5 separate regions of the Homo sapiens genome follow, and all the other regions are linked to region 1. The links are contacts of gene promoters, found by promoter capture Hi-C in human tissues and cell types (Jung and others, 2019). All regions are on one chromosome and are shown on one strand. The core of a region is centred on a gene start or on the middle of the fragment in contact, and the rest is flanking DNA. Distances in the headings are between cores, read along the strand shown. Region 1 holds the start of PARK7 (Parkinsonism associated deglycase). Region 2 overlaps PER3 (period circadian regulator 3). Region 3 overlaps CAMTA1 (calmodulin binding transcription activator 1). Region 4 holds the start of LINC01714 (long intergenic non-protein coding RNA 1714). Region 5 overlaps CAMTA1 (calmodulin binding transcription activator 1).

Region 1 (2,977 bases), core at 309-2,808:
ATCAACCAAAATGTTCATCAATGGATGACTGGATAAATAAAATGTAAATATACACAATGAATACTATTCAGCCATAAAAAATAATAAAATCCTATTTGCAACAACATTGATGGAACTGGAGGTCATTATGTTAAGTGAAACAAGCCAGGCAAAGAAAGACAAGCATCACATGATTTCACTCATAAATGGGAAGTTGAAAAGTGGATATCATGAAGATAAGTTGGTGGTTACCAGAGGCCAGGAAGGGTAGCCAGGAGAAGGGGATGAACAGGGTGATTAATAGGTACAAAAATTGGTAGAAGTGCTGGGCAAGGTGTCAAGAGCCCCAGCATCAGAAAGTGGTCGACTTGCTGGTTGGTAAGAAGAATTTATCGACAACAATATAGGTTTGAAAAAGGAAAGTTTTATTAGAACGCTGCAGAAGAGTGCAGCCTCAGCAAGAGAGAACTGAGCATGCCGCGGTGGATTTTTCATGTCCCTTTTCGAATGTCTCATTTTTTGCAAATTCAATCCAAGTTGCGTTCATTTAGCCAGGATCCTTCTAAGCTCATTCAAGAATTTTGGGCTTTAACTATTTCCTTTGATTTAACCTGGTACCAGGTGCCAACTTTAGATAATAGGGATATCTAATTACTTCTAAATTCCTCAGATAAGGGGCCTGCTTGATGGTCACCAGGTGATCTGTGCTCTCCTTAAGAGGGAATAAGACCTAGCGTTGGCAGAGTTCTGTAGGGTGACTATAGTTAACAGTAATCTGTTGTATATTTTAAAATGTTATTATTGAAGAGAGTAACTGGAATGTTCCCAGTATAAAGACAAATGTTTAAGGTGATAGAGATCTCATTTACCCTGATTTAATCATTACACATTATATGAAAGTATCAAAATACCACATGTACCCAGAAAACACATACGTCTCTTACATATCAATAAATACAACTTGAGATTATGATGTAAATACATCTGACCAACTTGGTACTTATTAGACTTATGTGCGCAGCACTGCTCTAGTCCTGTGGGTGCAGCAGCATCAGGATCGTTAAAGAAAACAAACAATGCTGAGAAAAAAACTCACACCCCTGAGACATCCGGGTGTGAATAAATGCGGCAGAGTCGCCCGAGATCGGGAGACCAGGCGTGGGGGAGAGGTCCGGGAGGCCTGGACCAGAGTCCTAACAGACCAGAGGCGAAACGGGAAGGCGCGCCAGAAAAGGAACAACGCAAAGGGAGCAGGCGTGCACGGAGCGCGAACTAAGGAACCCCTCTGACAACCCCAGTCCCTCGGCAGTTCCAGAGACCGGCTCCTCACGGAGGGTGGCGGTAGAGACTGTTAAGCCCCGCGGGCGCCGGGGCAGGCCGGACTGTGCCATTCGTGGGGGGTACCATGTGGGACCGAGCCGCCTCACCCAGGGCTGTCCAGCTAGAAACTCCCCGGTGCCACCCCCGCCTCAGTCCGAGGTAGACTCGGCCGGACGTGACGCAGCGTGAGGCCAAGGCGGCGTGAGTCTGCGCAGTGTGGGGCTGAGGGAGGCCGGACGGCGCGCGTGCGTGCTGGCGTGCGTTCATTTTCAGCCTGGTGTGGGGTGAGTGGTACCCAACGGGCCGGGGCGCCGCGTCCGCAGGAAGAGGCGCGGGGTGCAGGTCAGCGCCAGCGGGGGCGCGGCGCATGTGTGGGCCGTGGCGCTGGGCGGCGTGGGGGTGCTGGACGGTGTCCCTGTGCTGGACGGTGTCCCGCTGGCTCAGAACCGGCGCGGGGCCTGGGTCGGGGCCGCCCTCGCTTCCGGCCTCCCAGTCGGGCCCTGTCGCTGGCGTTGGATTTGACTGACCGCCAGCGTGGTGGCAACGCTGAAGCGTCCAGAATCTTCTGCCTAACCTCTCGCCGGCATGGAACTGGCTAGCCGTTTTATTAAACTCTGTTTTGCGTGGACGGTAAACCCTCCAGATAATCTGTAAATAGGCTAAAAAAAATTCGGAACCTCGTTGAGCTGCTGTCGTTGGCAGTGAGAACTCCGCGCAGAGAGACAGATGTAGTTGGGTTGACTTCAGTGAGGGGATTTCCATCTTTCTCAGTCATTAAAAAAAGTGTTCAGACATTTAACACTGTTGACCCCCACACACAATTTTTTAGTACAGTTATAACTAAGAAAACAAAAATCCCCTCCAAAAAATTACAAGTTAATTGCGAAAGACCACATTTAAATTTTTGCCCATGAAATTCAGTTTAGTCGTTTCTCTGAAACAGTGCTTCAAAAAAGACTGTTTCCCCGCATTGTGTGAAATGCAGGAGACCCACGTACTTGTATTTTTAAAAAACCCATTTGCAACATACTATTAAAGTTGGATTTAAGAGAACATGGTAGAAGAAAATCTAAGCAATACTACACCTTTTAGCACCCTCATTATGTTTTCATCTCAGAGCAATTAAAACTGCTATACAAATCAACGTTAAGATAACTAAACTGCTGCTTTTTTCGTATTCAGTTGTCTATGAAAACCGTTTCCCTAGGAAGTACTTACTCTGCTTGAAAATGCTCCTAAACTTTAAATTTTGGGGTATCTCAGGGTTGCAATGAAAGTTTTTTGAAATCTTTTTTTTTTTTTTTTTTTAAGGCTTGTAAACATATAACATAAAAATGGCTTCCAAAAGAGCTCTGGTCATCCTGGCTAAAGGAGCAGAGGAAATGGAGACGGTCATCCCTGTAGATGTCATGAGGCGAGCTGGGGTAAGTCCCACATCGATTTTTAGCCATTCCTGTTTTAAATGTTTTTGGATTTTTAAATCATTTTGAATAAAATATTCAAAGTGCTCTATGAAATATTTCAAATATACACAAAATTTCAGAGATGACATAAGAATAAATACCTGTTGATCCACTGCTCACATTTAACGCTTGTTAATGTCTTGCCATATTTCCTTCAGACCCATTTCTCTTTTGTTTTGAGCTCTGTCGTCCAGGCTGGAGTGCGATGGCAGGAT
Region 2 (2,743 bases), core at 25-2,524, 130 kb before region 1:
TTGAGGAAGTTCACTTCTATTGCTGCTCCACTGAGTTGCCCTTTCTGCGTCTGTTGAGATAATCATGTGGTTTTCCTCCCTTATTCTATTAATATGGTGAATTACATCAGTTTTCTGATAATAAATTAACCTTGCATTTGGTCATGCTCTTTTATCCTTTTTTATATGTTGTTGGATTATCTTCCTAATATTTTGTTACGCATTATTGCATCTCTGTGCAGAATATTGGTCCATTTACTTTCTTTACTTGTAATGTCTTTGTCTGGTTTTGGTATCAGAGTAATTCTGGCCTCAAAAAATGAGCTAGGAACTATTCTTTGCTATTCTGTTTTCTGGAAGAGTTTGTGTTGAACTGATATTATTTTTTCTTTGTAAGTTTGGTAGACTTTACCAGTGAATCTTTCTGGGCCTGGAGTTTTCTTGGTGAGGAGGATTTTAACAACAAATTTAAATATTTTAATATATATGGGTCTAATCAGGTTATCAGTTTCTTAGTGATCTTTGGTAATTTGTATCTTTCAAGAAATGTATCTATTTTATCTAATTTGTTGAATATATTGGCATAAAGTTTTTAATATTCCCTTTTCCTTTTAATGTCTGTAGGTTTTATAGTAATGTACCCCTCTTATTGCTGGTATTAATATTTTTCCTGATCAATCTGACTGTATGTTTATCAATTTTAATAACTTTTCAAAGAACTTTGGATCTCATTGGGGTTTTTTTTCCTATTGTTTTTTGGTTTTTTATTTTATTGATTTATGCTCTTTTTTTTTTTTTTTTTTTTTCCCTGGGACAGAGTCTGGCACTGTCACCTGGGCTGGAGTGCAGTGGCACGATATTGGCTTACTGCAACCTCCACCTCCCAGGATCAAGCGATTCTCCTGCCTTAGCCTCCCGAGTAGCTGGGATTACGGGTGCCCGCCACCACACCCAGTTGATTTTTTGTATTTTTAGTAGAGACGGGGTTTCACCATGTTGGCCAGGCTGGTCTTGAACTCCTGATCTCATGATTCGCCCGCCTTGGCCTTCCAAATTGCTGGGATTACAAGCATCATCCACCGTGTCCAGCCTATGCTCTAATTTTTATTACTTCTTTTCTCTTTACTTTGGATTTTATTTTTTTTTTCTTATTTCTTAAGGTAGAAGCTTACTTGTTAGATCTTTGAATTGAGATTTTTCCCCCCCAATATAAACATTTAATGCTATTGAATGCTCTAACCATTGCATCCCTCAAATTTTTTTTTTTTTTTTTTGGAACCAAGGTCTCACTCTGTTGCCCAGGCTGGAGTGCAGTGGCATGATCCCAGCTCACTGCACCCTCAAACTTCTGGGTTCAACAATCCTCTGGCCTCAGCTTCCTGAGTAGCTGGAACTGCAGGCATATGCCAGTGTACCTGGCCAGTCTAAAATATTTCTAATTTCACTTGTATTTTCTTCTTTGATCTTTTGGTTGTTTTAGAAAGGCTTAATTTCCTAATATTTGGAGATTTTTTTTAGATATTTTTATTTTATTTCTAATTTAAATGCAGTCAGAGAACATTCTTTTGTATTTTTTAAATTTACCAAGACATTGTGTAATGATCTGGAATTTGGTCCATCATGATAAATGTTTCATGTGCATTTGAAAAGAATATGCTTTCTGCTGTTGTTGAGTCATGTGTTCTGTAAATGTAAATTAGATCAAGTTGGTTGATAATGTTGATCCAACCTTTTCTAACTGATTTTCTATCTGTTTTATAAGTTATTATGATATGGTTTATATGTCCAGCTATAAATGTGAATTTCTCTATTTTTTCTTATAGTGCAGTGAGTTTTTGCTTCATGTATTTTGAAGCTCTTTTATTAGGTGCATATACACTTGAGATTATTATATCCTCTTGATGAATTGCTCTCTTTATCCTGAAATATGTCTTGCTTTGAAGTCTGCTTTGTCTGATATCAGTGTATCCAGTCCAGCTTTATTTGGTTAGTGTTTACATGGTAAATTTTTTTCATCTTTTTACTTTCAACTTATCTGTGTCTTTATATTTAAAGTAAGTTTCTCGTAACCACCATATAGTTGGGTATTGCTTTTTATTCATGTGACAGTCTCAGCCTTTTAACTGCAATGCTTGCTTAGATTATTTACATTTAATGTGAATATTGATATGGTTAGGTTTAAGTTAAATCTTTCATCTTGCTACTAATTTTCTGTTTGTCTCATCTGCCCTTTCTTTTTTTCCTCCTACCCTCCTCCTTTCGGGTTAATTGTGTATTGGCTTCTAAGCATAACTTTTTTTTTGTTTTTGCTCTAGGATTAACTTTTTATTTATTTTTATTTTATCTTATTTTTTTCTTTGAGACTGAGTCTCACTCTGTCACCCAGGCTGGAGTGCAGTGGTGCCATCTTGGCTCACTGCACCCTCCACCTCCTAGGTTCAAGCAATTCTCCTGCCTCTACCTCCCAAGTAGCTGGTACTACAGGCGTGCACCACCACGCCTAATTTTTTGTATTTTTAGTATAGACGGAGTTTCACCATGTCAGCCAGACTGAACTCAAACTCCTGACCTCAGGCGATCCGCCCGCCTTGGCCTCCCAAAGTGCTGGCATTACAGGTGTGAGCCACCACGCCCAGCCTGCTCTAGGTTGTACAATGCACATCTTTTACTTATCACAGTTTACCTTCAAATATTATGCCTATTGTATCACTTTATATATTAGAACCTTAAGACGGAGTACTTCCATGTCCCCTTTGTCTTTTGT
Region 3 (3,140 bases), core at 455-2,954, 210 kb before region 1:
ACACCAGTATCTTTGCAGTGAGGATCCGTGGTCCAATACTTTGATAAACTCCCTAGTAATTAGAGAACTGTAGGGAATCCAGGGTGTGATACCGTGATTGGAGAAAGTAAATGCTGGCTATTTATTACCTTTGAGTTTGAATTATATAAGGTATTTAATCTTTGGCCATTTTCCTTTCAGCTTCTTATCCATTTTAAAATGAAGAATTGTTAAAATCTTTGAAAATCAGAAGAAGCTCAGAACATCTTAAACTGCTTTTGTGCACCTTAGTTAAAGGTGCAAGAAGATTATCTAAGTACTCTTTCATGCAGTATTTCTGTTTGCAAACCACCTTGTAGGGTTATGTAACTAGTCAGATGGGAAAGGGAAGTCATATTTTTGGGGCAGCTAGTATGCACTAGATTTTTTAGGTGCCCCATCTCATTTCCTTTTTACAATTATTTGAAGTAAGCAGTATTTATTTCCAGTTTACAGATGAAGAAGCTGAAGCTCAGAGAAATTACATGAATATTAGGCCTTTCTCATTATCAAGGTGGTTATAAAATATTAAAAATTGCCTAATGGAGTTTTGACTGGTTCACACGATAAAATTCAGGCCTGTCAGTAGATTCGAGAACCTTTTATCAGATTGTGCTTTAGGTAGTTATAAATTTTTATTTAAGGAATAATAAATTCTAATATGTGTAATGGTCACATAGAAATTAGGGATTCTATCACCTTGTCATAATCCAGGACTTGCCTCAATTTCTGATATGGGTTGCCGTTTCCTCAAGCTTCTCTAGGATTAAGCCCTATTAATGGGGGTGGGGGGACGTCTTTGGCTTCGAGCCAGTTGAGTTCATGATCCCAGAAAAGGAAGGTTTATTGTGCAAACGCTGACACCACAGTGCCTGTAGCTCTATAGCAGGGAGCCGCACTGGCTTCTGTTTGGTGAGCAGGCTTCCTGGGAGCACAAGTGATACACAGAATGAAGGTTTCAAGTCTGTGATTACAACAGGTATTGATTCCAAAATATGAGTTTGGTTTTTTAAAAAAAAAAACCCTCCCCAGAAACTGTCATCTACAGCTAGGAAGACAGAAGGCATTATTTTTGGAAAGAGTAACAACTATAAAACAAATATTTTGGAAGATGGAAGGCATTAATATAGCCAGGTTGCCTTTTTTTTTTTTCTTGGTTGGGAGTTTTATTGATTCTGGTTTTTAATTTCATTATATTCAGCAATGTAACATTAATCTTGTATTTTCTGTTTTTCCCCCAAGCTGACATGGATAGCCTTGAAGGTAATGATACACCCAAGCCCTCTCACAAACCATTCCACCAGAGTCACAAACTTCACACCCATCACCAGCTACAGGGAGGGCCATTAAGATGGCACAGTCATGGAGTAAACATATCCCCCTTGCCAGGCCACCTAAGCACAGTTCCTCTGTCGTCTGGGGACCACGTGGTTATTCAGCTGGAGTGGGTTTCGACATTAATAACTGGACATTTTTTGGCTGGTGTTAATCCATCTAAGCCAGTTCCTGTGAGCCCTGTGGCCACTAAGTAAATACCCTTTTTCCCAAAGCGCTTCACTGTGGCCCGATGGGTCTGAGTGTGTAGTGTGCACAGGTGGAGACGATGGAAACCACAGGGGCTCTGTAGTCTGCAGCATTCTTGTCTTCAAAGACTTTCAGACCAGTGAAAAGGTAAAGCAGGTCAGATAAGACCAAAGAAGGTTCTTGCAGAAGGGTCCTGGTTCTTGGACAATTCTGAGAAGTCAGTTTCCCTCCCTCATTTCACCTCCTCATACATCCAGAGATACAGTTAGGCAGATACAGGGATTTTCTGGGGAATATTTTTCCTTGCGACGGTAAGTTGCCGTCTTATAAGCAAAGGGCTTCATTGCAACTTCTCATCCCCAGAGTCATACTCTGTTTGATTAGAAATTTGGACGTAGCATTTTAAGACCATGGAGAGCTCTGTATTTTTAGTGCCTAGAGACTGATGTTGAGAATTCACCCTGGGCCTTCGTCCCTCACTTCTGTAGCTCTGCAGCGGGCTGCGTGGAGGACTCCTGGCACTGCCTCCTGGGTCGTCCGCAGCTCTGTGACAGCCGTCCAGGTTTCACGGCTTCACCACCGTGTTGGTCTTACGAGTGTTCATCTTTTACAGGTTAAAATGGCTTAAAGGTGTCAGCGTTTCATGATAAGCCTTGTATTTGGGACCTTGCAACTCAGTCAGAAACTTGTCGTGTGGAATGATAGTTAAAAATCAGAGGCTGAATGCTAAGTAGATTTGTGTATGGTGGGAATTGGAAGGCATAAAAAAATTATGTTAGTGTTTCAAAACTGGATAGAAAATATTAATCCGAAGCATTTAAAATTTTACTGTCGAAATCTGTTTTTAGATTCATAAACGTCTAAGGGTATTGCTATTAAAATTTTTCTCCAAGAAGGGCAAGATATTTTGATATTTTAGGGAAAAAATATATGTCTGAAGGCAACCCTTAAAGTAATATTTTACATTTTGGAAAGGTAGGTGTAAAGATTCCTCATTTGCCTCTTTTGTGATTAAACCCCGGACAGAGAATGTGATAATAGAGGGGAAAAGCATTTTCTCTTCTTCCCTTCCCGGTAAGCTCGAAGGACGCTGAGCCCGTGCAGCCCCTGTTGTTACTGTGTCGCTTGTTCTTGTTTCCCCTGCAGTACGCACTTTATAAAAAGATGACACAGGCTGCCATCCTTATCCAGAGCAAATTCCGAAGTTACTATGAACAAAAAAAATTCCAGCAGAGCCGACGGGCTGCTGTGCTCATCCAAAAGTACTACCGAAGTTATAAGAAATGTGGCAAAAGACGGCAGGCTCGCCGGACGGCTGTGATTGTACAACAGAAACTCAGGTGGGTGGAGAAGAGCTCATGGAGGTAAAGCTCCCTAGGGAAGAGAACTCTGACTTCTTTGAAAGACTTGTCCTGGGCTGACATTGGAGTCTGGGGTGGGCCTAAAGCATTGGCAGTCACTGTGTTCCAGAACGTTTTAGGCATGGTGGCTGATAAGTACACCTGTGCTGAGTCTGGTTTTGAATATTTAGCTCTTTCTCTCCACCTCCCACCCAATTATTTTGATATTGCCACCCAATTTTACCTTATATCAGAATT
Region 4 (3,155 bases), core at 187-2,686, 250 kb after region 1:
TGCTCACTGCAACTGCCGCCTCCCGGATTCAAGCGATTCTCCTGCCTCAGCCTCCCAAGGAGCTGGGATTACAGGCACCCACCACCATGCCCGGCTAATTTTTGTATTTTTAGTAGAGACGGGGTTTCACCATGTTGGCCAGGCTGGTCTTGAACTCCTGACCTCAGGTGATTCACCCGCCTCAGCCTCCCAAAGTGCTGGGATTACAGGCGTGAGCCACCGCGGCTGGTCGACAATAGCAGTTTTAAAAGAGAACAAAAATTATGGCCCATTGTCACAGTGAGGGTTTTGATAGGATTTATTAGTTATAAATATTTTTGATTTGTACATCAGCTTCTTTATTCTACCCTCCCAAAGGCAGAAGGAATATTTATTAACCTCCCCTCTCATTGTCCACCAAGCCTAGGATCTGAGATGCTATGAAATTTCTCCTACAATAAATCTGGGTTATAGGATGCACCTCAAAACATAGGAACCTTTGCATCGTTTTCCACTGCCACTAATTCTAAAATTTTCTCTTTTTTTTGAGATAGGGTCTTACTCTGTCGCCCAGGCTGCAGTGTAGTGGCACAATCACTACTCACCGTGGCCTCAACCTCCCGGGCTCAAGCAATGCTCCCACCTCAGCCTCCTGCGTAGCTGGGACTACAAGCACACACCATCATGCCTGGCTTATTTTTATTTTTTGTAGAGAGGGAGTCCCGCTGTGTTGCCCAGGCTGGTCTTGAACTCCTGGCCTCAAGCGATCCTCCCACTTCGGCCTCTCAAAGTGTTGGGATTCTAGGTGTGAGTCACCACCCCGGCCCTAGAAATTTTCATTGTCAGATGAACATCATTTCCCTAGGCTGGTGTTGGGAAGCTGGGGGATCCTGTGTTCTCTCCAGCACTGGGTTTTCCCAAGCAGAAAATGAGCCTTATCGTGTACTCGGAATCGTCAGATATTCGTAGAGCCAGAAAACATCTTGAAAATCATGTTATCTCTTTGCTTTTTGCAGATGAGGATGTCAAGACTTGGAGTAGGTGACAGTTGGCCTTGGGCTTCGGTGGCCAACCCATGACTACAAAAGCCCGAGAAGCCAGCAGCTTCCCCGGCTCCTCCACCAAGTGGCCTCTGGGTGATGGGGAAGCTTGTCCTCTGCTTTGTCACACACAAAACTCTAAAAGTCAGCATCCCAACGCATCGGCCTGGAGAGCCCGTCCAGGTGAGAGACACACACTGGAGGATGTGTTGGGGCCAGAGGCAGAGCCAGCGATGTCACTGCCAGGTCCCGTGCAACACGACAACACGGGACTCCTGGTTCCAAAAGCAGGAGAAAAGCTTTTTCCTTTCCTCCCTTCACCTGTCACAGTGGTTTTTATTTGTGATTGAATGGTGTGCTCCCTGGGACGGGGGGTTCTCAAAGACATCTCTGGGAGTCTCACAGACTCAGGTGCCCAGGGGCAGGGTGCTTGAGTCCCAACCCTGAAACCCTAACTGTCCTTGATCCCCACAGTCCGTGCCCTCCTGCCAGCAGATCCTTTGTCCCACTGGATTTCATTTACAAACCACAAAGTCAGAAAGAAAAGTATTAAGAAATCCAAGAGGGGCCGAGCGCGTGGCTCACACCTGTAACTCCAGCACTTTGGGAGGCCGAGGTGGGCGAATCACATGAGGTCAGGAGTTCGAGACCAGACTAGCCAACATGGTGAAATCCCTTCTCTACTAAAATACAGGAATTAGCCGGGCATGGTGGCACACACCTGTGATCCCAGCTATTCAGTAGGCTGAGGCAGGAGAATCGCTTGAACCCAGGAGGCGGAGGTTGCAGTGAGCCGAGATCGAGCCACTGCCCTCCAGCCTGGGTGACAGAGCAACACTCCGTCTCAAAAAAAAGAAGTCCAAGAGGGCAATTGCAGAGAATTAAACCCCCTGGGCGGGCCCATCTGAGGGCAAGGGTCTGAGCTTCCACATTGGCCATAGGCCGGGGAAGCCTGGCCAGAGGTGAGCAGCCGCTTGGATGTCTGCGATGGCTCCAGAGGTAACAGAGACTCGAAGACCAGGGAGAATGCAAGCTTCAGGGCTGGGCACAGTGGCCCACACCTGTAATTCTAACACTTTGGGAGGCCAAGGTGGGCAGTTCCCTTGAGCCCAGGAGTTGGCAACCAGCTTGAGCAACATGGTGAATCCCTGTCTCTACCAGAAAGAAACAGAAAAAAGGAAAGAAAAGAAAGAAGAAAGAAAAAAAGAATGCAAGCTTCATGTTTGGCTGTAGCCTCCGCTGAGGGAGCCTCTCCAGTCCCGACTGCCGCGTGCCCTGGGTGGCGGAGGAATTTGGGGGTGGACCTATCTCAGTTGTATCTGGAAGAATTCTCAGGTTAGAGGGTGAAAAATATCTTTTTTATCCTTTCTCTTTTTATTTTTATTTTTATTTGAGCTAAGGTCTTCACCTAGGTCTGTCACCCAGGCTGGAGTGCAGTGGTGACATCACGGCTCAATGCAGCCTTGACCTCCTGGGCTCAGGTGGTCCCCCCACCTCAGCCTCCTCGGTAGCTGGGACTACAGGTGCACACCACCACACTCAGCTAATTTTTATATTTTTTGTAGAGATGGGGTTTCACTTTATTGCTCAGATTGGTCTCGAACCCCCCAGGCTCAGCAATCTGCCCGCCTCCGCCTCCCAAAGGGCTGAGATTACAAGTGTGAGCCACCGTGCCCGACCAATGTCATTTCTTAACGTTGATTTCCCCCTTAAGATGGGCACTGTGCCGAGAGATGTGGGAAAGAGTCTGCAAGCAGCCCCTTCCCCCGTCATCTGAATCTTTCATTTGTAAATAGGAGGATTTATGTGGAATCTGGCTTTTCTGATAGCATCGACGTTCCTTCCCGTGCCTTCTGAGTCTGTTTCTCTTAATTTGACTGTGGTCTCTGCTCTTCGCTGGACTCAGTAAGTATCTCACGCTCAGTTTTGGTGGAGGTCATGGATTTAACCCTTAGAGAAACCGTGGGGCAAGACTCAAGCTCATGAAGCCATGAGACGGCGAACCCCACATGTGAAGGCACCAGCTGGTAGTGAATATTCCCTGGGGAGGCGACCTTGGTGTTAATTCATTTATCAAGAATCATGAGGCCGGGCGCGGTGGCTCACACCTGTAATCCCAGCGCTCTGGGAGGCTGA
Region 5 (2,951 bases), core at 128-2,627, 240 kb before region 1:
AAACTGGATGAAGTCAAGCTGCATCCCATAGCCACACACTTTTTTTTTTTTTTTCTTGAGGCACGGTCTCTCTCTCTGAGCCAGACTGGAATGCAGTGGCACAGTCATGGCTCACTGCAGCCTTGAACTCCTGGGCTCAAGTGATCCTCCCACCTCAGCCTCCCAAAGCGCTGGGATTACAGGTGTAGCCACTGTGCCAGCCACATCCCCCTTTCACAGAAAGCACCCTTAAGTGTTTTGCTTTTTTACGTAATCCAAGGGATGCTTTAATGCTGGCCTCAGTAATTCATACATTTGTTCAGGCCTCACTGATTTGAAATTTGCAAAAATCGGAGGATGACTCTGGTCTAGGGGTAGGGTGCCAAGGGATACTCAGAGGAACTGAGTGCCGTGCCGGCATGGGAGAGCAGTCCTTGATGTATTCTGATGTGGCATAAGGAGCCGAGACATGAAAGAATCCTCACAAGCATCCTGACACTACTCGGAAGAAGCTTAATGACTAAAAATTTTCTGAAACCCTGTACTTCCCTTGGGGAAATAGTTTATTTCTGAATAAAATATTTATGTGGTATATTGACTTTTTAAAAATATCATCTATTTATCAGAAGGGTCTATGATGAATTATAAAATTGTTTTGCTTTGTTTTATTTTGTTTTTGAAACAGGGTCTCACTCTGTTGCCCGGGCTGGAGTGCAGCAGCATGATTGAAGCTCACTGTGGCCTCCACCTTCTGGGCTCACGTGATCCCCCCATCTCAGCCTCCAGAGTAGCTGGGACTACAGGCTCATGCCACCGTGCCCAGCTAATTTTTTTATGTTTTGTTGAGATAGGGTCTTACTATGTGGCCCAGGCTGGTCTCCAACTCCTGAGTTCAAGTGATCCTCCTGCCTCAGCCTCAAAGTGCTGGGATTACAGGCATGAGACACTGTGCCCAGCTAATATTCTTAAGTCATTTTATCCATTAGGACCTATTTTATTAGCCCCTAATAATAAAGATAAAATATTGGACAGATATTTTATCCAGAATCCAGCTATTTATTTTAAAATATGTACATTTCATTCTACTAAGTTGGGAAGGACTTATTTACCTATATGTTTTCCAGATTTTGTAGCACTATGAAAAACATTATAATTAATAAACTTGTGAGTTCTGGAACAGAAGTCTCTCATGTAGAATCCAGTATTCAGAAAAATACATATTTTTGGAACGTCTTGGGCTTTAACTCTCACAAGTTAGCAAGACAGTTAGCACCGTCTGTGCAGATGGTCCCCCTAGAGTTAGTTCTGAGAGCCAAGCCTTGCCAATAGCAGTCCTAAATAATGTATGGAGAATGAGCTTGGCACAACTAATGAGGATCCAGCAATCCCACCACTGCGTCTGTAGCCAAAGGAAATGAAATTAGGATGTCAGAGAGAGATCTGCACTCCTGTGTTTATTGCAACACTGTTCACAATAACCAGGATACGGTAGCACCCTGAGTGTCCATCTGTGGATGAATGTGTAAGGAAAATGTGGTCTGTGTCTACAGTGGAGTACTATTCAGCCATAAAACAGAATGAAATCCTGCCATTGCCAACATCAGAGCTGAATATGGACAGCATTCTGTGAAGTGAAGTAAGCCAGGCACAGAAAGACAAATGCCACATGATCTCACTCCTAGGCAGAGTCTTAAAAAGTTGATCTCATGGCAGTGGACAATAGAATAGTCATTACCAGAGGCTGGGAATGGGGACGTCGGGGAGATGTTTGTCAGAGAATGTGTATTTACAGTTAGACAGGAGGAATCAGTTCAAGGGGTTATTGTACAGCCTGGTGACTCGAGTTCATCATGATATATTCCTGAACATTGCTAAGAGGGTAGATGTTAAATGCCCTCACCACAAAAATGATAGCTGTGTCATTATTTAATGAACAAATGTACTCCAAAGTACATTTGTACATAGTGCATTACTATGTAGTACATTTGTTAATTAGCTAGATTTAATCTTTCCACAACGTTCATGTACTTCAAAACATCAGGTTGTATGCAATAAATACGTACAATTTATGTCCATGTCAAAAAAATTTGAGGCCAGGCGTAGTGGCTCACACCTGTAATCTCAGCACTTTGGGAGGCTGAGGCAAGAGGATCACTTGAGCCCAGGAGTTTGAGATTAGCCTGGGCAACATAGTGAAACCCTACCTCTACCAAAAATACAAAAAATTAGCCAGGCGTGGTGGTGCATGCCTGTGGTCCCAGCTACTTAGGAGGCTAAGGCAGGAGGTAGAGGCTGTGGTGAGTCATGTTTGCACCACTGCACTCCAGCCTGAGCAACAAAGCGAGACCCTGTCTAAAAAAAAATAAAAAAATAAAAACGGATATATTCTTATTAGCTAAAAGGTGACCATGAAGGAGCTGCTTTTAATAACTTGGCTGAAAAAAAGCCCATCATAGAAATGACTCATGGAAACAAATATTTGTTCTACATGTTATTCTGTACCTTGTTCTTCTTGAAGTTCACGTTGTGTATTTCCGATAGTTGAAATTAAATCATTTCGTCAATAAATATTTACAGAGGGCCTACTGTGCACCAGGAATTTCTGCTAGGCCTCAGGAATGTAGCGGTGACTGGGATGAACGTAGTCACTGGCCTCACTGAGCCAACACAATTTCTCTTTACGTTCATGTATATGAGACCGAGTTTCTGGTGACAAAGGCTCATATCGTGTTGGGTTTTTGTAGTCCCGGTGGCTAACAACTTGAGTTGTCTTGTTCACCCTTAGTTCCCTAGAGCCTTGGCGCAGTCTTAGCCAGCAGTGGGCGTTCCGTAAACACAGTGGGCGTTCCGTAAACACAGTGGGTGTTCCGTAAACACAGTGGGCGTTCCGTAAACATTTGTGGAATGAGTCCGTTCTGGCCGGATTCTCCATAGTTCTTCCCCAAGGATTTCAAGTGGTGTTTTGATCATGC

What was found. Contacts are between HindIII fragments. The study calls those that stand out against the background at their distance.
Region 2: a contact is called between a fragment that was not itself captured here and the fragment with the promoter of PARK7 in region 1, in 1 of the 25 tissues and cell types used here (H1 embryonic stem cells).
Region 3: a contact is called between a fragment that was not itself captured here and the fragment with the promoter of PARK7 in region 1, in 1 of the 25 tissues and cell types used here (mesendoderm cells).
Region 4: a contact is called between a fragment that was not itself captured here and the fragment with the promoter of PARK7 in region 1, in 1 of the 25 tissues and cell types used here (mesenchymal stem cells).
Region 5: a fragment that was not itself captured here is called in contact with the fragment with the promoter of PARK7 in region 1 in 1 of the 25 tissues and cell types used here (IMR-90 fibroblasts).

Annotation. Positions count from the first base shown.
Region 1 is chr1:7,960,153-7,963,129 of GRCh38, forward strand. PARK7 (Parkinsonism associated deglycase) reads left to right here and starts at 1,559. Exons shown (of 7, transcript NM_007262.5): 1 at 1,559-1,641; 2 at 2,611-2,723. The coding sequence starts at 2,634. RefSeq lists enhancers at 627-1,410, 1,110-1,209, 1,411-2,194, 1,590-1,639, 1,840-1,889 and 1 more and a silencer at 1,360-1,459. The HindIII fragment of the contact is 29,789 bases long and covers 1-2,977 here.
Region 2 is chr1:7,831,603-7,834,345 of GRCh38, forward strand. The region is part of intron 19 of PER3 (period circadian regulator 3); the gene reads left to right. Among named protein-coding and RNA genes, the nearest start is that of UTS2, 20 kb to the right of the region's middle. The HindIII fragment of the contact is 4,650 bases long and covers 1-2,743 here.
Region 3 is chr1:7,748,511-7,751,650 of GRCh38, forward strand. It overlaps CAMTA1 (calmodulin binding transcription activator 1), which reads left to right. Exons shown (of 23, transcript NM_015215.4): 20 at 2,689-2,882. Among named protein-coding and RNA genes, the nearest start is that of VAMP3, 21 kb to the right of the region's middle. The HindIII fragment of the contact is 6,096 bases long and covers 1-3,140 here.
Region 4 is chr1:8,207,672-8,210,826 of GRCh38, forward strand. It overlaps LINC01714 (long intergenic non-protein coding RNA 1714), which reads left to right and starts at 1,001. Exons shown (of 4, transcript NR_125998.1): 1 at 1,001-1,202; 2 at 2,816-2,924. The HindIII fragment of the contact is 4,333 bases long and covers 1-3,155 here.
Region 5 is chr1:7,715,394-7,718,344 of GRCh38, forward strand. The region is part of intron 11 of CAMTA1 (calmodulin binding transcription activator 1); the gene reads left to right. Among named protein-coding and RNA genes, the nearest start is that of VAMP3, 54 kb to the right of the region's middle. The HindIII fragment of the contact is 7,429 bases long and covers 1-2,951 here.